Regions from separate parts of the Homo sapiens genome. Here regions 1, 3 and 4 are each linked to region 2. The links are contacts of gene promoters, found by promoter capture Hi-C in human tissues and cell types (Jung and others, 2019). All regions are on one chromosome and are shown on one strand. The core of a region is centred on a gene start or on the middle of the fragment in contact, and the rest is flanking DNA. Distances in the headings are between cores, read along the strand shown. Region 1 overlaps YTHDF1 (YTH N6-methyladenosine RNA binding protein F1). Region 2 holds the start of LIME1 (Lck interacting transmembrane adaptor 1). Region 3 holds the start of GID8 (GID complex subunit 8 homolog). Region 4 overlaps DIDO1 (death inducer-obliterator 1).

What was found. Contacts are between HindIII fragments. The study calls those that stand out against the background at their distance.
Region 1: a fragment that was not itself captured here is called in contact with the fragment with the promoter of LIME1 in region 2 in 1 of the 25 tissues and cell types used here (liver).
Region 3: a contact is called between the fragment with the promoter of GID8 here and the fragment with the promoter of LIME1 in region 2, in 1 of the 25 tissues and cell types used here (liver).
Region 4: a contact is called between a fragment that was not itself captured here and the fragment with the promoter of LIME1 in region 2, in 1 of the 25 tissues and cell types used here (lymphoblastoid cells).

What each region holds. Positions count from the first base shown.
Region 1 is chr20:63,200,106-63,202,805 of GRCh38, forward strand. YTHDF1 (YTH N6-methyladenosine RNA binding protein F1) reads right to left here. Exons shown (of 5, transcript NM_017798.4): 4 at 2,182-2,700. Among named protein-coding and RNA genes, the nearest start is that of YTHDF1, 15 kb to the right of the region's middle. RefSeq lists an enhancer at 1-417. The HindIII fragment of the contact is 5,570 bases long and covers 1-2,700 here.
Region 2 is chr20:63,735,338-63,738,037 of GRCh38, forward strand. LIME1 (Lck interacting transmembrane adaptor 1) reads left to right here and starts at 1,327. Exons shown (of 6, transcript NM_017806.4): 1 at 1,327-1,375; 2 at 2,196-2,310; 3 at 2,484-2,565; 4 at 2,636-2,700. The coding sequence starts at 2,213. ZGPAT (zinc finger CCCH-type and G-patch domain containing) reads left to right here. Exons shown (of 7, transcript NM_181485.3): 6 at 1-227; 7 at 444-805. The coding sequence ends at 582. RefSeq lists enhancers at 753-932, 1,512-2,428, 2,628-2,700 and silencers at 2,363-2,582, 2,653-2,700. The HindIII fragment of the contact is 23,629 bases long and covers 1-2,700 here.
Region 3 is chr20:62,936,552-62,939,434 of GRCh38, forward strand. GID8 (GID complex subunit 8 homolog) reads left to right here and starts at 1,596. Exons shown (of 5, transcript NM_017896.3): 1 at 1,596-1,702. It also overlaps a transcript of DIDO1 not described here. RefSeq lists silencers at 797-846, 1,117-1,166, 1,537-1,766, 1,837-1,966 and an enhancer at 1,662-2,330. The HindIII fragment of the contact is 10,021 bases long and covers 1-2,883 here.
Region 4 is chr20:62,916,776-62,919,475 of GRCh38, forward strand. All of the region lies in intron 1 of DIDO1 (death inducer-obliterator 1), which reads right to left. Among named protein-coding and RNA genes, the nearest start is that of DIDO1, 8.4 kb to the right of the region's middle. The HindIII fragment of the contact is 9,356 bases long and covers 1-2,700 here.

The DNA of each region.
Region 1 (2,700 bases), core at 33-2,532, 540 kb before region 2:
ATCCCAGCACTTTGGGAGGCTGAGGTGGGCAGATCACTTGAGGTCAAGAGATCGAGACCAGCCTGGCCAACATGGTGAAACCCTATCTCTACTAAAAATACAAAATTTAGCTGGGTGCAGTGGTGGGCGCCTATGATCCCAGCTACTTGGGAGGCTGAGGCAGGAAAATGGCCTGAACCTCGGAGGTTGAGGTTGCAGTGAGCCAAAATTGCACTACTGCACTCCAGCCTGGCTGACGGTGAGATTGGCTCAAAAAAAAAAAAGCTATTTGAAATTCCACCAAACATTAACAAACCAGGTTCTCATTTGTCACTTTCAATAAAATGAATTAATGTTAACACTGACCCATATGGGCCCAGAGTTCTCCAGCTTGGCTAACAGTTTAGGGGAGGGTTACCAAGTTCCTTCCAATGATGCTCCACCAGCGGCTCTGTTGGACTCGCCTTGGAGCACCCAGTGGTTTGAGGAACACTTGGATCTTGCCTGCAGGCAGATGCCCACAGACCCTGCAGGCCGCTTACCAAGATGCTTAACCCATAACCCGACACACAAAAGCAGTTATCTAGATCAAGTTTTTATAATGCAAGTTGTAGGACACTAGAGTTTTAAAAACACCAACCAGGTCAGGAGTCCGCACACTTTATGAAAACCCAAGTATTACGGTATTTAAGAAGAAAAACTGTGCGCGCACACACACACAGCCAGCTTCCAGTTTAGCCAGCTAAGGACCTAAAGCTTCATTAGCAATTATCCCTGCAACTTTAGCAATTCAGTATTCATTTTATACCTAAAAGTCTGTAATCCGAGCTATTGTCTGTAATCCCAGCTACCTGGAAGGCTAAGGCAGGACAATCACTCGAACCCAGGAGGTGGAGGTTGCAGTGAGCCGAGATTGCGCCACTGCACTCCAGCCTGGGCAACAGAGCAAAACTCCATTTAAAAAAAAAAAAAAGACCTAAAACACAGAATTTCAGTAACTAATTCAGAATTCAGTAACTGGAAATAAATGACATCCACTTCTTTTCTCACAAAAGAGAGGGACTGATACTTTTCCAAAGTTCTACAAGCCCCAAGTTGTTCAGGACTTGCATAATGTAAGACTGCAGACAGTGCAGGCGGCTCTACTCTATACATCCCTATATATGCCATGTACACGCCTTTCTGCCCAAAATACATTAGGACACTTGGTGCTCACAGGTGAATAATTCCTTTAACATAGAGAACTGAAAAAAACACTGAAAACCCATCTATTATCAACTGACATTTCAGGAAGGGATATTTTTTAAAAAGCAGGAGAGAATCTCAGGATGAACTCTCTCGAATAAAGGAAGCATTATGAAGTATGTCAGCATCATCATTTTCCCATTGCTGGTGCCAGTTTACGGGCATCTGAGCCCTTCTGAAGAGCAAACACACTCAATCCCGTCAGACATCACATGACAGCACAGACTCAGGAGTTTGGCTACAAGTATCCCAGGAAATCAGGACTGTCTCAAAAAGGCCCAGTCAATGAATTTTTGATATAGGATCCATATTTGTCATTATAAAATGTCTGGATTCCAAACCTACCCCACCACCACCATTTTCTTTACGACCTAGATGGAGTGAGTTTGTTTCCAAAAACTGCAGGATACTGGGTTTTTAAAAGAAAAATAAAGCAACGACCTCCAGATCAAAGACCAGAGATTCCCAACTACTGAGGGACAGTGCCCTGGGAAGCAAGGGCCCTTGGCCAGGTGGGGTCTCGATGCCCTACGTGCCCACCGCAGTGCTTCGTGAATATCACCTAAGTGTTCCTCATGGACGGAGGCTGGGAAGCACTGTTCCAGAAAGTATCACAATTCAAAAAGGAGAGGAGAAAGTTACCCTCAAATTCTTTGTAACAGAAAAACAGAATGTGTACACTGTGGTCCCAATTATTCAATTATAATTGGAAAGTGATCAAAGTCGTTCGGTGACATCTACCCAAATACCATCACTGGTTACTAGCAGTACTCTCCGCAGGGAAAGCCCACGAGGCTGCCAGGACCTGGGCCCGCCCACCTGCGGCCAACTGGGAGCTGCCTGTCACGAGACTCAGCTCGGCGGACCTGCCGCATCTGCTCACCACCGGGCCACCTGGTCTAAGTACGGCACCAAGGACACATCTGCATGGCAGTTGCCTGCAACACCCAGCCTCACCTTGCGCACCACCTCCTCCTCCTCCTGGCGCTTCTCGTAGTGAGCAAAGTCGTCGAAGATGGAGGTTGTGTGCTTGTAGGAACTGATAATTTTCAGCACTTGCTTGGCTTTTTCTAAGGGCACCTCCTGGGTGTCCCGGGAGTTTGTGACCGGTTTGTTGTCGTTATTCTCCAGCCTGATGTGCCGGAGCTGGTTATTGGGTACATCCTTAACAAAAATCCACTGGACATCAAACTTCCCCTTCCACTTGTCCTGAGACCAGACCCCGGCACTGGTGCCGTAGTCCACGGGGGACTTCATCTCGGCCACCCCACAAAAATGCCCACTCCCATTGACGCTGAAGAGCAGGTAGACGGGCCCCTTGCTGCTCATGCAGCGGAAGGCGCTGTCCAGGCGCTTGTTGCCGTGCTCTGTGCTACACCAGATGGAGTACTTAATGGAGCGGTGGATGTCGTCCTCAGAGTAGCTCTTGATGATGAACACACGCCCGCTTTTCAGATTCCACTCAAACTCTTTCGG
Region 2 (2,700 bases), core at 77-2,576:
CCTCGGAATGTGTTTGACTTCCTCAATGAAAAGCTGCAAGGTCAGGCTCCTGGGGCCCTAGAAGCCGGGGCGGCCCCAGCGGGGAGGAGGAGCAAGGACATGTACCATGCCAGCAAGAGTGCCAAGCGGGCCCTGAGCCTGCGGCTCTTCCAGACTGAGGAGAAGATCGAGCGAACCCAGCGGGACATCAGGAGCATCCAGGAGGCTCTCGCCCGCAACGCTGGCCGGTACGTGTGGGGCCCAGCTCAGGGCAAAGGGCGACCCAGGGTGGCCCTGCCCCCGGGATACATGCTGGAGGTCACCTGACCCAAGCATAGCGGGCTGAGTCCAGGAGGGGTCTGCATGTTGGAGGACGGGCAGCGGGCACACAGGCAGTGGGTACGGCAGACTGGGGTTGGTGGCATGGCCCAGGACCCCACGCTGACTAGTGAGCCCCTCCGCAGGCATAGCGTGGCGTCAGCCCAGCTGCAGGAGAAGCTGGCAGGAGCCCAGCGCCAGCTGGGGCAGCTCCGGGCTCAGGAAGCCGGCCTGCAGCAGGAGCAGAGGAAGGCAGACACCCACAAGAAGATGACTGAGTTCTAGAGACCCCACAAGCACTATGGACGAAGCGTGGGACCCCAGCACGGGCTGCCCTCAGGAAGACCAGTGTTGCCCGAGGAGGGGCCGGCCTGCTGGCCTGGGGCGTGCAGACACTGCTGAGTGGAGACAGAGCTGCGGGGTCCCATCTGGACACTTACTTGCCCACCTGCCAGTGTCTTGGGCATTTCCTTGGCAAGGACATTAAAGTGATTTCATCACAGTGTCATTCAGTGGAGATCAGCTGGCTGCAGGGTCTCTGGGGAGAGAAGGGTCTGTGCAGGGCTGTGGTGAGAGACGGGCTGGGCTGGAGGGGCCTAGGAGGCCGGCATTCTCCCTTCTTACCCTTCTCTGACCAAGGCAGATCGGAGGCCAGGGTGCCCGCCAGGCTGCCTGACACCCACAGATGGGTGGAGCTCAGTGCTGCTCCAGCGGGCGAGACGGGCGGGAGAGGACTGTGGCCCACCACGTGGGGCACTCTTGGTGAGGCAGGCGGACCTGGCCCTGTGGGTTTGGGGGTTCTGTGCCAGCTCTGCTCACGTCTTCGTGTGTGGAGGGGTTGTGAGTTAGGCTGTCAGAACAGTGCGGGCTAGAGGCGCACACGTTTCATCTAGGCTTCGGGCGGGGCGCAGCAGGTGGGTGAGGCTGCGGTGGTGGCTGCTGCCCAGGGTGGGAGGCTCAGGGGAGGCGCTTGGCGACAGGAGCAGGAAGTGATGAGGTGGGGAGCTCAGCCGAGGGCTGCACAAAGACCTTCCTGGCCTGCCCCAGACAGAGCTGAGGACCCCTGGCCGTGGGCTTGGTAAGTGCCCTCCTGGGGGGCAGCTGGGGTCTGGGAGGCCTTGGGATGTGGCTGCAGCTGGGTCAGTCAGCCAGGCTGAAGCCCACTCCCTGGGTCTGAGCAGACTGGCCCCAAACTCCAGAGACCACCCCTCACCCCCCAGCTTCTGTCTCTGCTGCTGGACTGTGCTGTTTGTAAGGCATCCCCCACCCCGAGAAGTTCTGCTAAGATCCCCAAGAAGGGGACAGATCCTCTCTGGCAGAGACACTGGCAGACAAGAAGAGCCAGAGAGAAGTGGGGTGGGGGCATCAGCACCCCCAGCAGCTGCTGCTGCCTGCTGACCCAGCCTCCAGCTCCTCCGGGTGCAGGGTCCCTCCTGCTGACCAGCCTCCAGCTCTTCCCAGTTCTGGGCTCCGCAGCGAGCGGCTTGGGGGCACTACCTGACACAGGAGACCATGTCTGGGCAGAGGGTGGCTGCAGGTGGAGTCTGTGGCCTGTGGCGCACACCCAGGGGCTCCCCCGATGCTGGTTACTATCTGGGCTATGGTGGCCACAGCTGTCTTGCCCCTCCTCACGGCCGTGCTGGGTGTTACCGTGGTCACCCGCAGGGACACGGAGGGGCCAGGCAGAGCAGCCCTAGTTCACCTCACCGGGAGCCCCCGCCAGAAGGTGGGCACCTCTGGGAGGGAGGGACTGCCAGGCCTTGGGGCTTCCTGTGCTGAGTCAGAGCTGGAACGGGAGACGCAGGAGCCCCGCAGCCGCGGGAGGTGCAGATTTGGGGCTGCCAGGTGGCGCCAGGTCCCCTTGGCCAGCCCCCAGCGCCCCTTTCTTCTGTCCCCAGGGCCTCGGCTTCACAGGATGGGGCTGCCAGTGTCCTGGGCCCCTCCTGCCCTCTGGGTTCTAGGGTGCTGCGCCCTGCTCCTCTCGCTGTGGGCGCTGTGCACAGCCTGCCGCAGGTAGGTCCCTCAGCCGCGTTCTGTCTGGGGCCTCGCTGCGGCTGCCATTCACAGCCCAGCGCGGGAAGGGGCTGGAGGCAGGTCCGCGCACCCAGCTCGGCACGCGCGCCTGCACCGGGCCTTGGACCCGAGGCTGACGACCCCGCCCCCCGCCCCCCACCTCTACCCCCAAGGCCCGAGGACGCTGTAGCCCCCAGGAAGAGGGCGCGGAGGCAGCGGGCGAGGCTGCAGGGCAGTGCGACGGCGGCGGAAGCGGTGAGTGCCAGGCTGTCCCGGGGACCAGGGTGGGGTCCGCAGGGCACCGACCAGCCTTCCTCGCCCCCAGTCCCTACTGAGGCGGACCCACCTCTGCTCCCTCAGCAAGTCGGACACCAGACTGCACGAGCTGCA
Region 3 (2,883 bases), core at 346-2,845, 800 kb before region 2:
CTCAAAAAATAGAATAAAATAAAATCAAAATAGGCCGGGAGCGGTGGCTCACGCCTGTAATCCCAGCACTTTGGGAGTCCGAGGCGGGCGGATCACGAGGTCAAGACACTGAGACCAGCCTGACCAACAAGGGGAAACCCCGTCTCTACTAAAAATACAAAAATTAGCTGGGCGTGGTGGTGCGCCCCTGTGGTCCCAGCTACTCGGGAGGCTGAGGCAGGAGAATCGCTTGAACCCGGGAGGCGGAGGTTGCAGTGAGCCGAGATGGCGCCACTGCGCTCCAGCCTGGGCGAGAGTGAGACTTCGTCTCAAAATAAATAACTAAATAAAGACCAATAACTGTTTCCCATAGGGTTATGTAGTTGCAAATGAAAAAATTACTGGCATGTACTGCCTCTGCATATGAAGCATAATTTTGTCAAGACCTTATACCTGCAGATTTAGCTCTTTCGATTAACGGAAAATGTCCAAAATCAGTCTCCTCCAACCTATTTGCCGAACTGGACTTACTGTCGCTGAGTAGACCGACCGACATAGCTTACACGTTGTTCAGCTCGCTTGTAAGCAAACACACGAAACCACCTCACCCCTGACTTCAGAAAGAAGCCGTCCCGTGAATTCCTCACAGATGAAATCAGGAGCTGCCCCTCAAGGACTCTATTTCTTCCTTCGGCTCTATCAAATATTTTAAGGTACTTCCCAGCAACGGAAACATGGGACCCTGCAATGACAGACTTCGCATTCCTCCTGAGCGGACAGGCAATAAGCAAGTAAACGCGCAAATACCCAAGTGCGGCCTCAACCCGCGCTCCTGCCGGGAGGGTCTCCAGTCACCGAGTAACCCCGGCCCTGCCCCGCGCCGCCGCCGGGACTCCGCCCCGCAAGCAAGTGGGGTCTCCTTTGTCCCGCGCGCCCTGGCCGCGTCCCGCCCTTCGGCGTAGCCCATGGGAGGCGCCCTGAGGGCAGGGCCCTTCTGATTCCCCACCTGGCCTCGAGTGAGGACGCGCTCAACAACATCTCGAGTAAAGCGGGGGAACTCGCTTCAACGCGCAGACAGCACAGCTCTCGCCCAGCCCGGTCTCGGGTCAGCCGTCTCTCCCTGGACCTCAGGGACACTAGCCCTGGAAGGCCGCCGGTCGGGAGGGGACTCCCTCCCCGTCTGAGGGGCGGCCGCGGACACCCGGCGCCTTTCCCCCGCCCCACCCCGTGCGGCCTCACGCAAACGACAGGAAAAAAGCTGGGACCTTCGCCTCCGACTCAGTGTAGACGTCGCCATCCCGGTTCCAGATTTCCGCGCTCCAACGCCTCCGCAGCAGCCATCTTGCCAGAGGGCCGACGCCTTTTGACTCTGGCGCCAACCCGTAGTGCGTGGTCGCCGCGAGGGGAGTTCTGCGCAAGTACGGAAGCTGAGGTTCCGCGCTTCCGGGAGGCCGTCCGCCCCGCCCCCTCGCGGGGGCGCTTCATTGGTCATCGGCTCGCGCTCTCGCGCTCTCTTGCTGTCGCGAGAGGTGCTGAGGGGCGGCCTCCGGTGCGCCTGCCCTCCCGCTCCCCGCCCCCGCCCCCGCCCCCGCCTCCGCCGCGGCCCCCACCTCTGCCTCCTTCTACTCGGGCGCCCCGGCGGCCGCCACCTCTCCCCAGCCCAGGAGAGGCTGCGGAGCCGCAGCCGCCCAGACCGCGCAGCGCGGGAGGCAGGTTCCGCACGGTAAGATGGCGGCGGCGGGCCCGGGCGGCCGGGCCGAGCGTCTCCCGGGGCCGGGCCGGGCGGGCAGGCGGGATGTGGCCGGGGTGCGCGCCGCCCCCGCTCTGGGGGCCTTGGAAGCGCCGGCGCTGGCAGGTGCGGAATTGGGGCGCGCAGTGAGTCCAGGCCCGGACGGCCGCCCCGCGCCGGTGCCCAGGGGGCAGTCAGGGCTCAGCCTCCAGGCGCGCGGCCTCAGGCGCTGGTGTTCTGGGGCGGTCCCGGCCAGCCTGAGGGGCGGCGGTAGCTGTCTCTGTGGAGGAGCGACGTCCGTAACGAAGTCTTTTTAATAAAATCTGCTGCTTTAAAGCAGAAACCGAGCGGGTGAGGATGTAAAGTGTGGCATGGAAAGTAGGAGTCTTCAGCACACGGGTGTTTTCTTCTGCTGAATCTTTTTATGCTGGAGTTTGAGACTACCGAGTTCTTCCTGCTAACAGGACTGGCCAGTTCTACAAAGTTGTTGCTTTTCATGGGCGCACGTAACTGCCCGGAGTGGAAGCGCTGTGAGTGCCGATCACCGAATGGGCCGAGAGAAAAGGTGCCTTTTCCTAGGGAGCTCTTAACGTTGGTCCTAGGGCCGGGCGCGGTGGCGGAGGTCGAAGTGGGCGGATCACTTGAGCCCGCGAGTTCGAGACCAGCCGTGGCAACAGCGAGACTCCCTTCTCTGCTAAAAATAAAAAAATTAGCCAGGCAGAGTGGTGCGCTCCTGTTGTCCCAGTTACTCTGGAGGCTGAGGTGGGAGGATCGCTTGAGCCCAGGAGGTCGAGGCTGCGGTGAGCCATGATCGCGCCACTGCCCTCCAGCCTGGGCGACAGAGCGAGGCTCTGTCTCAAAAAAAAAAGAAAAAGAAAATGAGTCCTTAAGTTACCATTAATTGTCGTGAATAAAAAGTTGGTCTCAGTGAGTTTTGCAGTTGACAACGAAAGATGGGTGTTCGTGTGTGACAGCGACTCCTGGTTTCTCCTCCACTTTACCTGCCGCTCCACATCAAGTTTTCTTCTGCTGGTGCCACTTTCTCTGCTTTACCTTCAAGGTTGGCATCCTCCAAGTAATGGCGATTCTCATTCCCTATCTACGCTCTTCCTATGGTCTTTGCTGAATTCTTGGCTTTAAATATCCCTGTGCCCCAGCACCGCCCCCCCCGCCCC
Region 4 (2,700 bases), core at 89-2,588, 820 kb before region 2:
TCACATAACTGGATGTTCACTGATACTACACCAACTCTCGCCAAGGAGCAGTTTCATAAAAGTTAGCTGAAACAGAATTTGCAGCCTTTGTCAAGGAACTTCTCCCTTTCTTTCATGAAAACTGACTGCTGTGTTCACTCTGAACACGTCCTTGCACTCTGGACCCATGTGCATGCTGTTCACCTGGATGACACGGGTTCAAGTAACAGACAGATTCTCAATGTCCACACATCTCATCGGATAGCATAAAACAAACATTTTTTTTCCTGTTGCCCAGGATGGAGTGCAGTGGTGCAATCAAGGATCACTGCAGCCTCAGCACCTCCCCCACCCACACCACCGCCAGGCTCAAAGCGGTCTTCCCACCTCACCCTCCCCAGTAGCTGGGACTACAGGTGCATGCCACCATGCCCAGGTAATTTTTGCATTTTTTTTTGTAGAGACAGGGTCTTACTATGTTGCCCAAGCTGGTCTCAAACTCCTGGGATCAAGTGATCTACCCACCTCCGCCTTCCAAAGTGCTGGGATTACAAGTGTGAGTCACCTCACCTGGCCGATAATGTCGGGTCCAATCTCCAAGAAGACTTTAATTACTAGAAAGCCATCAGGTTTACAATGGCAGATACAAGTTTTCTAAAATTCCAATTTTCACCCCAAAGCTCAAATTTTATCCTTAGCAACAAATACTGTTCGTTTTTTCTTTGAGACATCACTCGTTTTGGACAAAACGCCTGCCACATGCTGAGTCTGAAAACTGTCCTCCGTCTGTTGTTCTGTCAGGGACAGACAGCGTTTCCGAGACCACTCGGCTCCCAGCTCAATCCCCTAGGGCTGTGCGTGGACAGTACCACGTGGGGATGCAGCAGAAGCTTTATATATAACTTGACATTTAATCACAGCGAAAGTAAAAAAGATGTATGTTTGCGGGTTCCGAAAAAAATTAATATTTACTGCATCATCAGGGACATTATTTGGGAAAATTGGCATATTCTAAACATTCGGTGCCCATGCACGGTGCTGAAGAGGGCTCCAATCTGCCCTGTGCCACCGATGCAAATGTCAAACTCACCAGAAAAGGCCTGTACTATTAGACTATTATTATGCAGAAGTCATCTTTACCTCTTAGCCCCAGAAAGGGCTTCAAGGACTTCCCCCTCAGGAGTCCATGAAACACAAAGAACTGTGGCAACATGCCATTTCTACCAGTTTAGGAGTACACTGGATATGTGCAAAGCAGTAATACATACCTATGCTTCAGACATCAGAAGAGACTTTAAACATTTCCTTCCACAAGGGTTCTGTAACTACCTGTTAATCTTCCCTCAGATTCCCCAACTCACCAAAACAGTAAGCAGCCAAAAGTGAAATTTCTTAAAAACCAAATAAAAATATCTTCCCAAAAGGTCAGCTCTGTTACTTTAAAAAGCCTAACTGCAACTATTACAATGCATGGGTTTGCAACCACTGCAAATCTGTATGCTCAACTTTTACTACTCTAAAATCTGCTTGAAGTCATTAACTCAAGCGTGCCCACTTCCAGGTTGTGGTACAGCTGCATGATCAGGGCTCACTGCAGCCTCTACCTCATAGGTTCAAACGATCCTTCTGCCTCAACCTGAGTAGCTGGGACACCACTGGCGTGAGCCACAGTGCCCAGCTCCCACCTAAAGATTTTCAGTTCCAAAAACTTGAGACTAGTTTCTGAGTAATTAATCTCCAAGACACTTTAAAATATGACATACAACCATAATTAAGTTTCTATTTTCATAACATCGCACCTCCAGGAAAAGAGCTCTGACTTCTAAGCAAAAAGATAAAACAAAAATGCATAGTTTACCTCACCTAGTGGCAAACATTCTGTTTCTTCAAACCTCACATTCCCCTGAAACAATATTCAAAACAATTTTAACCCGCCAGTCAGAAATTATAATGCTACAATAAAACCTCACTATTCTAAACTTCATTATTTTCGCTAATTCTGACAGGGTAGGCCAAAGTTTACATTTATTTATATTTTGCCTATTAAGGGTCTCCTGGCTCATCAATCTGTTTATTATGCAGATGAGGAGCAACTGAGAAGACACTAGGTAAAAGATCTTTAAACTACCACAAATGAAGGAAAGATTACCCAATGAAAGACTCTTGATAGCTCAGTTTTCATTAATGCGACAGTCACTAGGAGAATATGCCTAGAAACTTCAGATGACATCCCCAAATGCGACGTGTTCTCCAGCCACCAGCAGCAGCCGTTCATGTACCATGATGGCCCACTCAAAGCTCCACCAGCTTGCGGCAGGAAACACTGTGCTGCACTCACCAAACAGGAAAGAGATTTGGGCCCACAAGGAACTGAAGAAGCCCAACTTTCATTTACTTTAGTATCTATGCAGAATCTGACTCAATTGCATAGATTACATTTAAATCCTTCAGACGGCAAATTCAAAGTTTTGCTGCTTACCAAATAATACCGTCATTACAAAAATTATTCTGGGCCGGGTGCGGTGGCTCATGCCTGCACTTCGGGAGGCTGAGGCAGGTGGATCACCTGAGGTCAGGAGTTTGAGACCAGCCTGGCCAACATGGTGAAATCCCCATCTCTACTAAAAACACAAAAATTAGCAGGGCTTGGTGGCAGGTGCCTGTAGTCCCAGCTACTTGGGAGGCTGAGGCAGGAGAATCACTTAAACCCGGGAAGCGGAG